Linked DNA regions of Homo sapiens: all the other regions are linked to region 1. The links are contacts of gene promoters, found by promoter capture Hi-C in human tissues and cell types (Jung and others, 2019). All regions are on one chromosome and are shown on one strand. The core of a region is centred on a gene start or on the middle of the fragment in contact, and the rest is flanking DNA. Distances in the headings are between cores, read along the strand shown. Region 1 holds the start of PCSK2 (proprotein convertase subtilisin/kexin type 2). Region 2 has its middle 210 kb from the start of OTOR. Region 3 has its middle 75 kb from the start of OTOR. Region 4 has its middle 130 kb from the start of OTOR.

What was found. Contacts are between HindIII fragments. The study calls those that stand out against the background at their distance.
Region 2: a fragment that was not itself captured here is called in contact with the fragment with the promoter of PCSK2 in region 1 in 2 of the 25 tissues and cell types used here (dorsolateral prefrontal cortex and lymphoblastoid cells).
Region 3: a contact is called between a fragment that was not itself captured here and the fragment with the promoter of PCSK2 in region 1, in 4 of the 25 tissues and cell types used here (H1 embryonic stem cells, dorsolateral prefrontal cortex, heart right ventricle and 1 more).
Region 4: a fragment that was not itself captured here is called in contact with the fragment with the promoter of PCSK2 in region 1 in 3 of the 25 tissues and cell types used here (dorsolateral prefrontal cortex, mesenchymal stem cells and mesendoderm cells).

The regions. Positions count from the first base shown.
Region 1 is chr20:17,225,722-17,228,877 of GRCh38, reverse strand. PCSK2 (proprotein convertase subtilisin/kexin type 2) reads right to left here and starts at 1,838. Exons shown (of 12, transcript NM_002594.5): 1 at 1,396-1,838. The coding sequence starts at 1,572. The HindIII fragment of the contact is 16,215 bases long and covers 1-3,156 here.
Region 2 is chr20:16,952,461-16,955,246 of GRCh38, reverse strand. No RefSeq gene overlaps it. Among named protein-coding and RNA genes, the nearest start is that of OTOR, 210 kb to the right of the region's middle. The HindIII fragment of the contact is 9,535 bases long and covers 1-2,786 here.
Region 3 is chr20:16,821,693-16,824,683 of GRCh38, reverse strand. No RefSeq gene overlaps it. Among named protein-coding and RNA genes, the nearest start is that of OTOR, 75 kb to the right of the region's middle. The HindIII fragment of the contact is 4,833 bases long and covers 1-2,991 here.
Region 4 is chr20:16,873,771-16,876,956 of GRCh38, reverse strand. No RefSeq gene overlaps it. Among named protein-coding and RNA genes, the nearest start is that of OTOR, 130 kb to the right of the region's middle. The HindIII fragment of the contact is 3,241 bases long and covers 59-3,186 here.

The sequences.
Region 1 (3,156 bases), core at 589-3,088:
CAAGACCCGCCCGCGCGCCACCGGCGGACCCAGAGCCTCTTCCCAGACCTCTGTCAAACTCGTCGCCAGACCCTTCTGGGGTCGAAATTCCGGTACTGCCTACGCCCTTAGGAGGAGGGAGAGGCCCCCACACCTGGAGGAGCCCTGGCGGTGGCTGGGAGAGAGGCGGGAGGCTTGGGAAGTCAGGACAGAAGAGACTAATAAGAGCTTCGGTCTGCGCGGCCCTTCAAGGCAAAACCAATAACCAAAAGCACCCACCGCTCATCTCACTCCTCTCTCTTCCTGGGATCAGGAGCGAGATGGAGCCTAAAATCTCAGGGACCTCCACCCAGCCCTCTGGTAGCCACATCTCTGTCCTTTGGGTTCCCCTCGCCCCACCTTCTCTCTGCACCCACACTCCACCCCAGCCTGCGCCAGGTCCCCTAAGGACACTGGAGAACCCTGATACATCTTTTGCAGGAGAGACACGCAGGTCAGCCACAGCCCCCACCCAGCGCCCTTCTCTCTGTCCTCCCAGGATGAGTACCCTGGAGTCTCCAAAGGAGATCCAAGGTGTCCAAAGCTGGGAGGCTCACCTATCTGCTCAAACTGTCGAACTCTGGCAACTTCTTGGAATGGGGATCCCCACGCTCTAGTGGGAAAGCCAGGCTGGCCGCCCACGCATCAGGAGAGGACACCTCGACTTCTCCGTAGGGAATCCCCCTCAAAATCCACCTCTCCAGCTCCTGTAGCCGGGAGTTGAGAACTAGGGAGCCAACCAGAAGTGCGCTCCAGGGGTGGGCGGTCGTGGGCGGGGGTGAGGGCGCAGAAGTTCCGCCCCGATTTTAGAGACCAGTTTCTTTCCAAATCTAGAGTCAGGAAGCCGTTGTTCCCGGAGAGGAGCAGGGACCGAAGTCCCTGGGAGGGAAGTCCTCCCGGCGCGGGGTGGGAGAAACACCGAGGTGAATTGCAGTGTCCAAACGTCCAGCCTCGTCTGTAGGAAACTATTCTTTCTCCGGGGGATGGGGGTGGGGGAGACTTCCCTGGCCAAGTAGCCAACGCCAGGCTTAGCTGTTCAGGGCTTCATCCCTCCATCCCCAGGCAGCCTCGAGAACTTGGTACCTCGGACAGCATCCCCGGAGCATGGCATCCTGTGAAAGGTGTTATCCTATTTTCGCCATCAAGTCAAAGAGCAGTAAATTATTTTGATGACCTTACTAGTACAGATGAAGGACATTTTAATTACATAACCGGTGAAAGATCACCGGAGGCAATATCGTGTTAAAGAGCCCATGGCAGAATATCTGCATCGCATGAGAAAGAGAGAAAACTTGCAAATCTGCAATGAGATTGCGCAGGGCTGCCCCCCCGTCCCCCCGTTTTGAAACAACATGCGAAATGCATGGGAGAGCTTACCTTTCGGACTCCAAAGCCGTGTTCTGCTGCAACTTGGCGAGCTTTGTCCTCTCCCCCTTTATGCAACTCCACAAGAAAATGATTCGTGAAGACCGGTCGCTCAGCAGATGCAAAAACCATGACACAGAAGAGGAACCCGGCGGCCGCCTTCCACTGGGAGACACAACCACCCTTCATCCTTCTTTGGGAGTGAAAAGTGGTGCTAGGAGGCGCGCAGGCTGGCGGAGCAGGGGACTCGGAGGGAGGGTGCAAATAAAGAATTCTTATATATAGTTTTTAAAAAAATCTTTGTATAGAGAAAGAGACTGAACAGGGTCTTGGAAAGCAGCGAATCAGTGTGTGTTCTCCAGCATCTGGCTGGAGGGGAAGCCGTGCAGTCAGGCGGCCCGGCGCGCGGGCAGGGGTGCGAATGTGGGGAGCTGTGTGTACCGGAGAGAAAGAGCGAGTGTAGGTCTGTGCTTGATGCTAAATCTGCATTTTCAGCTCCTCCTCAGCTCCAATTCCCTAGGGGCTGGGGGAGAGCACCAGCTCGGGTGACGTGAGTCCGCCAGCGGCCAATGAGGGCGGGGGAAGCGGCGGGCCCCGCCCTGGGCCGCCCCGGGCCCGCCCCCGCCCACCCCCGGCCCGGCCCGGCCCGGCCGCCTCCGCCTTCTGGGGGCGCAGCGCAGCGCAGCGCAGCGCAGCGAGCCCGCGCCCCCGCCCCTTTCAGCACCGGAGAGCTCCCCCATCTCAGCCTGGCCCGCCGCGCGCCCAGGAAAATCCCCCCAGCTGTAATCAGGCCAGCGGCGGCGGAGTGATGTCATTGTTTGTGGGAATCTGTAGGCTCTGGGAAGGGAATTACGGTGTGTGCCGCTCTCAGAGGCCCCGAGGGGAGCAGGGGCGCCGGCCTCTGTGCCTCTTCCTGCTTGTTTCCCGCTGCAAAAACACCTCTCTCTCTCTCTCTCTCTCTTTCTCTCTCTCTCAAACACACACACACACACCCAAGGCATACTTGCCTCCCCTTATCCGAATAACAAAGCAAATATTAACCCTCCTCCCACCACTTTGGGCAAATCCCCGGGGAGGTTTGCTCTCCTTGGCACCAGGAGGGTTGGGGAAAGCACCTTCTAGGGGTGATCCATGGGGGGCGAGAGTGCAAGGACGAGCCCTTGTTTTTTGTAGGCTCCAGGCAGGTCCGGAGCGAAGCGGCTGGGAAGCCCAGCAGGAGACCCGGCTCGCCCCACCCGCGATGGTGACTGGAGGAGGCTCCTCTAGGAGTCCTGGCTGCACCTCCAAGATCTGCCTTCAGGAGAGACGCGGCCGGGGTGGACACGGCGGGAGGTGCATTCTCAGACCTGGGGACGTTCCACTGCACAAGGACAGCGAGGGTGCTAGTTGGGGAACGCATAGCCACCGATCCCAGGCGCCGGGCCAAGTCGCCCGCTGAACGTCTTCTACTGGAGGCGAATTCGGGCGCAGCGACGGGGGGCAGGGGCAACTAAGTTATCCGGTTAAGAAACGTGCACTCGCACTGGACTCTGCTAACTGCTGACGACGGACTCCGCTTCTTGCCTGAGAGGGAGGAAGCACGAACGTTCTGTATGTAACGAAATGAGGACGACTGTTTCAAAGCTACTCAAATATTGTTGTGTTAAAGAGTATTTACACTGATCTCATTGTATCATTTAGCTTCAAAGCTCAAAATTCTGCTTTACTTAGATAAGAGGTAAGAGATCTTTTCTTAGGGGCTTAAGTGCATGCAATTCAGAGAGAGAGGAAGAG
Region 2 (2,786 bases), core at 147-2,646, 270 kb after region 1:
CCACATCACTTTAGTAAGAGCTATCCAGCATTTATTCACTTGCTGCCAGTTTTCTTGGAATTTTCCTAGCTTGACTCAAAATATTCATGCAAACCAAGCCAAAAAGGAAGAGAAGGCAAAGGAAAACACAGTAGTTCTTTTTTTAATTTTTATTTTTTTCTACCTGAACAATGATAGTTTTTAAGGACAGCATTTCTCACAGAATGGAAACAAATTAGAGCTAAAATTCCTGGTTATCTTCATTCAACTCTTCTTTTGATCTAGCAGAGAAACTAAAAACAAGATAAATGATGTGACCTACCCAAGGTCACACAGCTGAGACTAAGCCCACATTTCTGGACTCCTAGTTCTCAACATATAAGTCTATGGATGTTTTCCAAAGGGAGCACCACGAAACGAATTTTTCAAGATATCAGAAGGTGGTTTTGGGGAGAAGGGGAAATGGGGAGTCAGGTTCTATGGTCAAACATATTTGGGAAATGCTAGTTTATTTTGTTTTGTTTTGTTTTATAGCATGGGTTCCCAGAAATTTAACTATGCTATATTGTTGGGACACAGTCAGGAAAGCAGCAATAACTGTAGATTTCTAGCATAAAAATATTTAATGCGGAAGATTGGGAGCTTACAACTCTATTGGAAGGGCCTGAAGTCGCAAAGATCAGGTAAAGCCACCATTAGATCCAAAGAGCACCACAGTTAGGAAGCTGCTGTCGCTATCACTACTGTCTCCAGACCTGAGGTGACTAATGTTCAGGGGAATGTCTGGAAAGGACTAGAAAACATTGCATCTCACAAATCTCAGATTTACTCCTGCCACTTGCTGGAGAAACAACAGTAGCTCTCTCCCTTTTGCCTTTTACTTTTCATGTAAGTGCTTCTCCATTGGCAGCGTCTAGTCTGAACTCTGTTCCCTCTGGAATCTTAGTAATGTAGTTATCAGGCTTCTAGACCCTAGAATGCAGTAGCGATCACAGGAGGGAGTGGTCTATTTTGTTTATTGTTGCTTTTGGAAATGTTATCTTCACCCAATTTGAGGTACCCACCAGAAGCCTGTCAGTTCCCTTCCTTGAGCAACTGATTAAGCATTTTCCTTATTGGGCTCTCACGCTGCAGACCACTATGCACTCACCCAATTAGCCTGGGGCCAGACCCCAGACAATTAGGGACAGTCTCTATGTACTGAGTCCACAAAATTATTCAAATTAGTCAATTCACAGGAAGCCTGTGAAACCCGGCTTGCCATACACCAGACATAAATTGCTCTCTGCATCTTGCAACTCCCCGTGTGGCCCTGCGTGGCAGCCTTCTCTCCTTCAGAGATGTAAGTAACTAAGAGTTCTGCCCTTCATTTAGTTGAGTATCTTTGTTTTGTGCCCACCATTAAAGAATTTTTGGATTTTATAAAGCAGGGGGCAGGAATGGAGCAGAGTTACCAAAATCAATCTAGTGCAGCTAATAATGTGTATTGAAGCTCTCCAGTGGAGATACAGTATTTAGTGTTTCCTGAACTTTTTTAACCACATGTCTTCATTTTTAGAGGTAACACTTACTGATGATACATGTCAAAAGGTATCAAGGTTTCATGAAACTCATTTTGGGCATTATTGTTTTAAATTATAATTTCAAGGGTTCATATACTTTGAAGGCCCTGTGACCCAAAAGGAAGCAGGATTGGTGATGTAGTGGCCTGGGCTATGTTATCAGGGCATTCATGATCACCACTGGATTATAGTGTAATCCATAGTACAGTTGCCATTGTACTATGGATTACACTGTACATAAAGATTGTTATTCTGCCTAGATAGTTCCAGCTGGTGGATTTGTACAGGACTTCCTGAACTCATATTTCTATAATCAAAGCCATCCTCATCTTTGTCTCCTATCCAAATCCTAGTTGATTATCAATATCCAACTCAAGTCCTTTCTTTTCAACAGGAAATTCAATGATTAGCTCAGCTTTCTCTCATCTCTTCATTCTCTGAAATCTTGACACGCTGTCAGCACTTGTCACAAATCTGCCTGTGACATCTCTTGTACTACTTTCCCTGCTCTATTTAACAGCTCTTTTGTGTCATTCTCTTATCCCCAACTGCATTGTAATCTCAAAGGAAGCTTGGATGCTGCTGGGCACCTCCTAAAACCTTTAGACAATGCTAAGCACATAATGGGTACACAGATAATTGTGGGAGGGATAAATTAATTAGTTGGCCACTTCAGTTTCTAATACAAGGATTTTCTATTGTTGTTTTATGTTGTTTTAGAATTTTAGTTGAAGCAGGACCTAGCTTGCATGTGGATATATTTGTTCATGCAGATGAGAGCAAAAGCAGAGTTCCATAAAAACTACTATTATCAAGTGGTAGAAGTGATTTTCCTTATGTAACATTTCTTAGCTATTTTGGTGTTCTTAAACCATGAAGAGCAATGTGACACTTATAAAGTCCTAAGTGACTTTCTTCCTTCCAAGAATTATTTCAGGCTTGGGTTCCCAGCAATTCAGAAGCAATTTCTATTTCTGCCATGTTCATACTTTGCATCTTCATAGCCTTTAAACTTTTTTTAAATGTATATGGTCTATTTGTCTTCCAACAATGATTCTTATGATCTGGGTAAAGCTAACACAATAGTATTGTCCTTATTTAACCATTGAAGAAACTGAGGGGCAGAGATCCCATCTAGTAGGTGGCAAAATCGAGACTTGAAACAAAATCTTCTGCCTCCCAATTTATAGCTCTTTCTAATGTGTTCCAAAGTAAAGAGAAGTGTAAGAATGTATGTATACATAT
Region 3 (2,991 bases), core at 12-2,511, 400 kb after region 1:
ATTGATTTACATATGTTGAACCAACCTTGCATCCCAGAAATGATCATGGTAAATTAACTTTGTGATGTGCTGCTGGATTTAGTTTGCTAGTATTTTGTTAAGAATTTCTGTGACTATGTTTATCAGGGATATTGGCTTGTAGTTTTCTTTTTCCATTGTGTGTTTTCCAGGTATTGGCATCAGGGTGATGCTGGCTTTGTAAAATGAGTTATGGAGGATCCCCTTCTCCTTGATTTTTGAAATAGTTTTAGTAGAATTGACACCAGCTCTTCTTTGTATGTCTGGCAGAATTCAGCTGTAAATCCATCCAGTAGGGAGTTTTTTTTGGCTAGTAGTTTTTTTTTTACTACTGATTCCATTTTGGAACTCAATATTGGTCTGTTCAAGGTTTCAATTTCTTCCTAATTCAATATTGGGACATTGTGTGATTCCAGGAATTGATTCATTTCCTCTAAATTTTCTATTTTGTGTGCATAAAGGTGTTCATAATAGTCTCTGATTTTTATTATATTTCTGTAGGATTGGCTGCAATGTCACCTTTGTTATTTCTTCATTTCTGATTATGCTTATTTGGATCTTCTCTCCTTTTTTTGTTAATCCAGCTAGAGATCTATTGATCTTGTTTATCCTTTCAAAACCAACTTTGGATTTTGGTGATTCTTTGTATGGATGTTTGGGTCTCAATTTCACTCAATTCAGCTTTAGTTTTAGTTATTTATTTTTTTCTGCTAGGATTGGGATTAGTTTGTTCTTGTTTTTCTAGTTCATCTAGGTATAATGTAAGACCATTAATTTGAGATCTTTCTAAGTTTTTGAGGTAGACGTTTAGCACTATAAACTTTCCTCTTAACAATACTTTTGCTGCATCCCAGAGGTTTTGGCATGCTGTGTCTCTGTTTTCATTTATTTTAAAGATATTTTTTATTTTTGCATTAATTTTGTTATTTACCAAAAGTCATTCAGAAGCAAGTTGTTTAATTTCCATGTAATTGTGTGGTTTTGATTTTCCTGTTATTGACTTTTATTTTTATTCCACTGTGGTCTGAGAGTATGGTCAGTATAATTTCTATTTTTTTTTAATTTACTGGGACTTGCTTTACGGTCAATCTTGGAATATGTTCCATGTGCATGTGAGAAGCATGTGTATTCTGTGGTTGAGGAGTGGAGTATTCTGTCAATATCTATTAGGTTCAATTATTCAGGTGTTGAATTTAAGTCCAGAATTTTATTATTAGTTTTCTACATCAAAGATCTAACACTGCCAGTGGGGTGTTGAAGTCTCCCATTATTATTGTGTGGCTTTCTAAGTCTTTTCACAAGTCTGGAAGTACTTGTTTTATGAATCTGGGTGCTCCAATGTTGGGTGTGTGTGTGTATTTAGGATAGTTAAGTTTGCCGAATTGAACTCTTTATCTTTGTGTAATAATACCTTTTGTCCTTTTTTACTGTTGTTAGTTTAATTGCTGTTTCATCTGAAATAAGAATAACAATGTCTGCTCTTGTTCGTTTTCCATTTGCATGATAGATCTTTCTCCAGCCCTTTACTTTGAGCCTATTGGTGTCATTACATGTGAGATATGTCTCTTGAACACAGCAAACAGATGGATCTTGTTTTTTATCCAACTTGCCTCTCTGTGCCTTTTAAGTGGGGCATTTAAACCATTTACTTCAAGTTTAATACTGATATATGATTTTTTTTATCCTAACATGAAATTGTTAGATGGTTGCTTTATGGTTTCTATTGTATGGTTGCTTTGTAGGGTCTGTGAGTTATATACTTAAGTGTGTTTTTGTGATAGCACATATCATTCTTTTGTTTCCATGTTTAGAAATCACTTAAGGATCTCTTATAAGGCTGATCCAGTGGTAACAAATTCCCTTAGCACTTGATTGCCTGCAGAAGATTTTATTTCTCCTTCACATATGAAGCTTAGTTTAGTGCGATATGAAATTCTTGGTTGGAATTTTTTTCTTTAAGAATACTGACAATAGGCCCTCAATCTCTCCTTGCTTGTAAGGTTTCTGCTGAGAAGTTCATTGTTAGCCTAATGCAGTTCCCATTGTGTTTTATCTGCCCTTTTTCTCTAGCTACATTCAAGATTTTTTCTTTAGCATTGACCTCGGACAGTCTGGTAACTATATGCTTTGGTAATGTTCACTTTGTATGGTATCTCACAGGTGTTCTATGGATTTCTTGTATCTAGATTTTTATCTCTCTATAGCAAGATTAAGGAAATTTTCTTGTATTATTCTTTCAAATATGTTTTCTAGGTTGTTTACTTTTTCTCCTTCTCTCTCAGAGACAATTCATAGGTTTGGTCACTTTACATAATCCCATATTTCTCAAAGACTTCGTTTTTAAAAATTCTTTTTTTTCCATTTTTGTCTGACTCAGTTGAAAGACTGCTCTTCAAGCTCAGAAATTCTTTCTTCTGCTTGTTTATCGATAAATTCTTTCTTCTGCTAGTGTATTCATAAAGCTTCTAATTGTATCTTGAAATTCTTTAAGTGAGCTTTTTAATTTCAGAAGCTCTGGCTGATTTCTTTTTAAGGTGTTTATCTCTTCCTCCATTTCCTGGATTTTAGAGGTTTCTTTGTGTTGATTTTCAACATTGTCATAGATCTCATGGAGCTTCCTTGCAATTCATGCTTTGAATTCTTTACCTGTCATCTCTAAGTTTCCACTTTGGTTAGGGACCGTTGTTGGAGGGCTAGTGGCATCCTTTGGTGGTGCCATTTCATTCAGATTTTTCATGGTGCTAGAATTCTTGAGCTGGTTCCTTCTCATCTGGAGATGCTGGTATTCTAATTTTTGTAATTATTTTGGCACAGGTAGGACTTTTTCTTTTATTTCCTATATTTTTTTTTATTTCCCTTTACTTTAACCCCCCACCCCCGACCAGGGGCTGTGACTGTAGAGAATGCTGGATAGGGTCTTTTTTTCTGCTTCTATAGCCCCGTGGATTTCTTTTGGCAGGTTTTATATCAGGC
Region 4 (3,186 bases), core at 430-2,929, 350 kb after region 1:
TGCTTCTATTTGCCAGTTCAGTTCTACTAAAAATCTGGGCAGGCAGTCTGAGACAAACTCCCCACAAATACAAATTGAACTACTTCCTCATTAAGCCACTTCACCTGCATCTTAATTACATGAGATACTACTGTATCCTATGTACAAGTATTTCTTCAAATGTTACCCAAGGATATTGAAAATATTCATGTGCCCTTTAGCAGTATTCAAAGCATTCTTCATGCTCAGGAACAAGAAAGTAACTCAGATCCAGTGATTTAAGCCGTTGGTTCTCGTTGTTAATGGAAATTTTGCACTACAGGGAATGGGGTTTAAGCTTCAAGGGAAATTCAGTAGGAAAAACAAGGTCTTGAATAAAATGTTTCAAAGTTTAAATAGCAGATTTAGGGCTATTTGCAGTACTACCCTACATCTTTTACTGGAATATTCAAAGCTGCAAAGTCAGTAAAGAACTTGGCTTCCCAGGTAAACTTGTGAGTTAGCTGTGTAGAGAATCGGGCTATCAGAAGTGACAAGTGGAATATTGGGGAAATTTCCTTTCTTTTAATCATGTGAAGTTGTCAATGCAGAACAAATGAGAACTTACTTTGGTAAAATGATTTGGAAGAACTGCCTCACTCTCTATGTCTTTTAAGGTTTGAAAATAACATGAGACTAGACACCCCCTTTGCCCCTACACTTGGCAATGTAAGAATGGTCTGCATCCAACTCCAACAAATATAGCAGTCTCCTGTTTCCTACAGTATCAACCACATGGCAATTTTTCCTGGAAAGTGAACAAACAGGTGCTTTATTTGACACATAGAGCAACGTCTGTATTTCTTTTGATCAGCGTAGTCCTTAGCAAGCAGCCCTTGTTTTTAATCCATTTGAAACACTGACTAAAAGAGGAAGGTGGAGAGATTAGGAGGTGTCATCCTCTGGTTTATGAAAGGGAGAGTCAGACCGGGTGCAGCGGCTCATGCCTGTAATCCCAGCACTTTGGGAGGCCAAGGAAGGTAGATCACCTGAGGTCAGGAGTTCGAGACCAGCCTGGCCAAGAAGGTGAAACCCGGCCTCCACTAAAAATCCAAAAATTAGCTGAGTGTGGTGGTGGGCACCTGTAGTCCCAGCTACTCAGTAGGCTGAGGTAGGAGAATCATTTGAACCTGAGAGGAGAGGTTGTAGTAAGCTGAGATCACTCCACTGCACTCCAGCCTGGATGAAAGAGTGAGACTCTGTCTCAAAAATGAGAAGAGAGAGTCAAAAAATAGTTGCATCAATCAAATGAAAGAAAGTTTGAATGGATGTCAACAGCTAAGAAGAATAATGGGGGGGGATCGGCCATATCAATCATGAATGTAAATGTTGTCTTTTCATTTTCAAGACACAAATATACTGTTACTCTGCTACTACAGATCTTATGTTCTGTTAATATAGATTTTTAATTACACAATAATAAATAAAAACACTGTTCTTATAAGGTTCAAACACTACAGGCACTCATATATATTAAAAACAAACTGGCCGGGTGCGGTGGCTCACGCCTGTAATCCCAGCACTTTGGGAAGCCAAGGCAGGCAGATCACAAGGTCAGGAGTTTGAGACCAGCCTGGCCAAAATAGTGAAACCCTGTCTTTACTAAAAATACAAAAAATTAGCCGGGCATGGTGGCAGGTGCCTGTAATCCCAGCTACTCAGGAGGCTCAGGCAGGAGAATCGCTTGAACCTGGGAGGCAGAGGTTGTAGTGAGCCGAGATTGCACTCCAGCCTGGGTGGCAGAGCGAGATTCCGTCTCAAAAAAAAAAAAAAACCATCAAGTCCTAATTTATACCTTCATTTTTATTCTTCTTTCTGAAGATAAATATTGCCAATATTTTGGTATATTTGGTATGTTGACAATTTAATTTCAATGCATTTAACCATACATGTAATCAGGGTGAGATCTCCCTCATTGTCTTTAATAGCGGCATGTGATTAAATATCACAGATATGGCATAGTCTATTTAGCCACTCTTTCACTGATGACGGTTTAAGTTGTCTCCAATACTTATACCATGAACAACAACAAATGAACATTTGTTGAACAAAATTTTTAAACACAAATGCAAAGATTTATTATTTTTTAAACATTTATTTATTTCTATAATATAAGTAAGACATGGATATATATTCTCAAAATGCATAATCAAAGCTCATCTTAATCCTAATACCCTCTGTAAAGGTAACTGCTATTATTTTGATGTGAATCTTTCCAGAACTTCTGGACCCCATTTACACATGTACAACTGTATATAGCTAGGCATAGCTTTGTTTTGTGTGAAGAATTGCTTGTCATTTATGATAATATATTGCTAGACAATCTTCATAGCTCCCTTAACTGCAGGTGTGGTGATTTTTCTGTGTACAAGTGTATCTACCCCATTTATTGTCACTGTTGCATAATATTTCATTGAGTCTCAACACCAATTTTTTTAATCATTTGCCTATAAATAGACTTTTAATTATCTACTGTGTTGGATACATAGTGTATATTTCAATACATATTATATTCAGTACACCAAATACAGATGCTCCTCAACGTACACTGGGGTTACTTCTGATAAACCTGTCACAAATTGAAAATACTTTAAGTCAAAAGTGCAGTTAATACACCTAATATACCGAATATCATAGCTTAGTCTAGCTTACCTTAAGCAAGCTCAGAACATTTACATTAGCCTACTGTTGGGCAAAATCATCTAACACAAAGCTTATTTTATAATAAAGTATTGAACGTCTCATGTAAGTTAGTGAATACTGTACTGAAAGTCAAAACAGAATAGTTATATGGGTACCAATCATAACATTAGAAAATTGTAAATTGAACCATCTTAAATCAGGGACTGTCTGTATATATTTATATGTGTGTATGTGAGTGTGTGTGTATGTTAGTTCTTATTGCCTGTGGTTTAAAATTTATTTTCTTTCACTGGGGGTATATTTTATTTTATTTTATTTTATTTGTGGATGGATAATATAGATACATGGTTCAGAATTTAAAAAGCAGAAGCATGTAAGGTGAAAATTAAGTCTCTCTCACACCCCTTTGCCCAGTCACCTGGTTGCCTCCCCAGAGGTAACCACTGTTACCAGCTCCTTGTGGGTTCTTCTAGAGATCTCTGTATATACAATAGGAAAACGCAGGATTCCTCCTCTGCAGGTAGA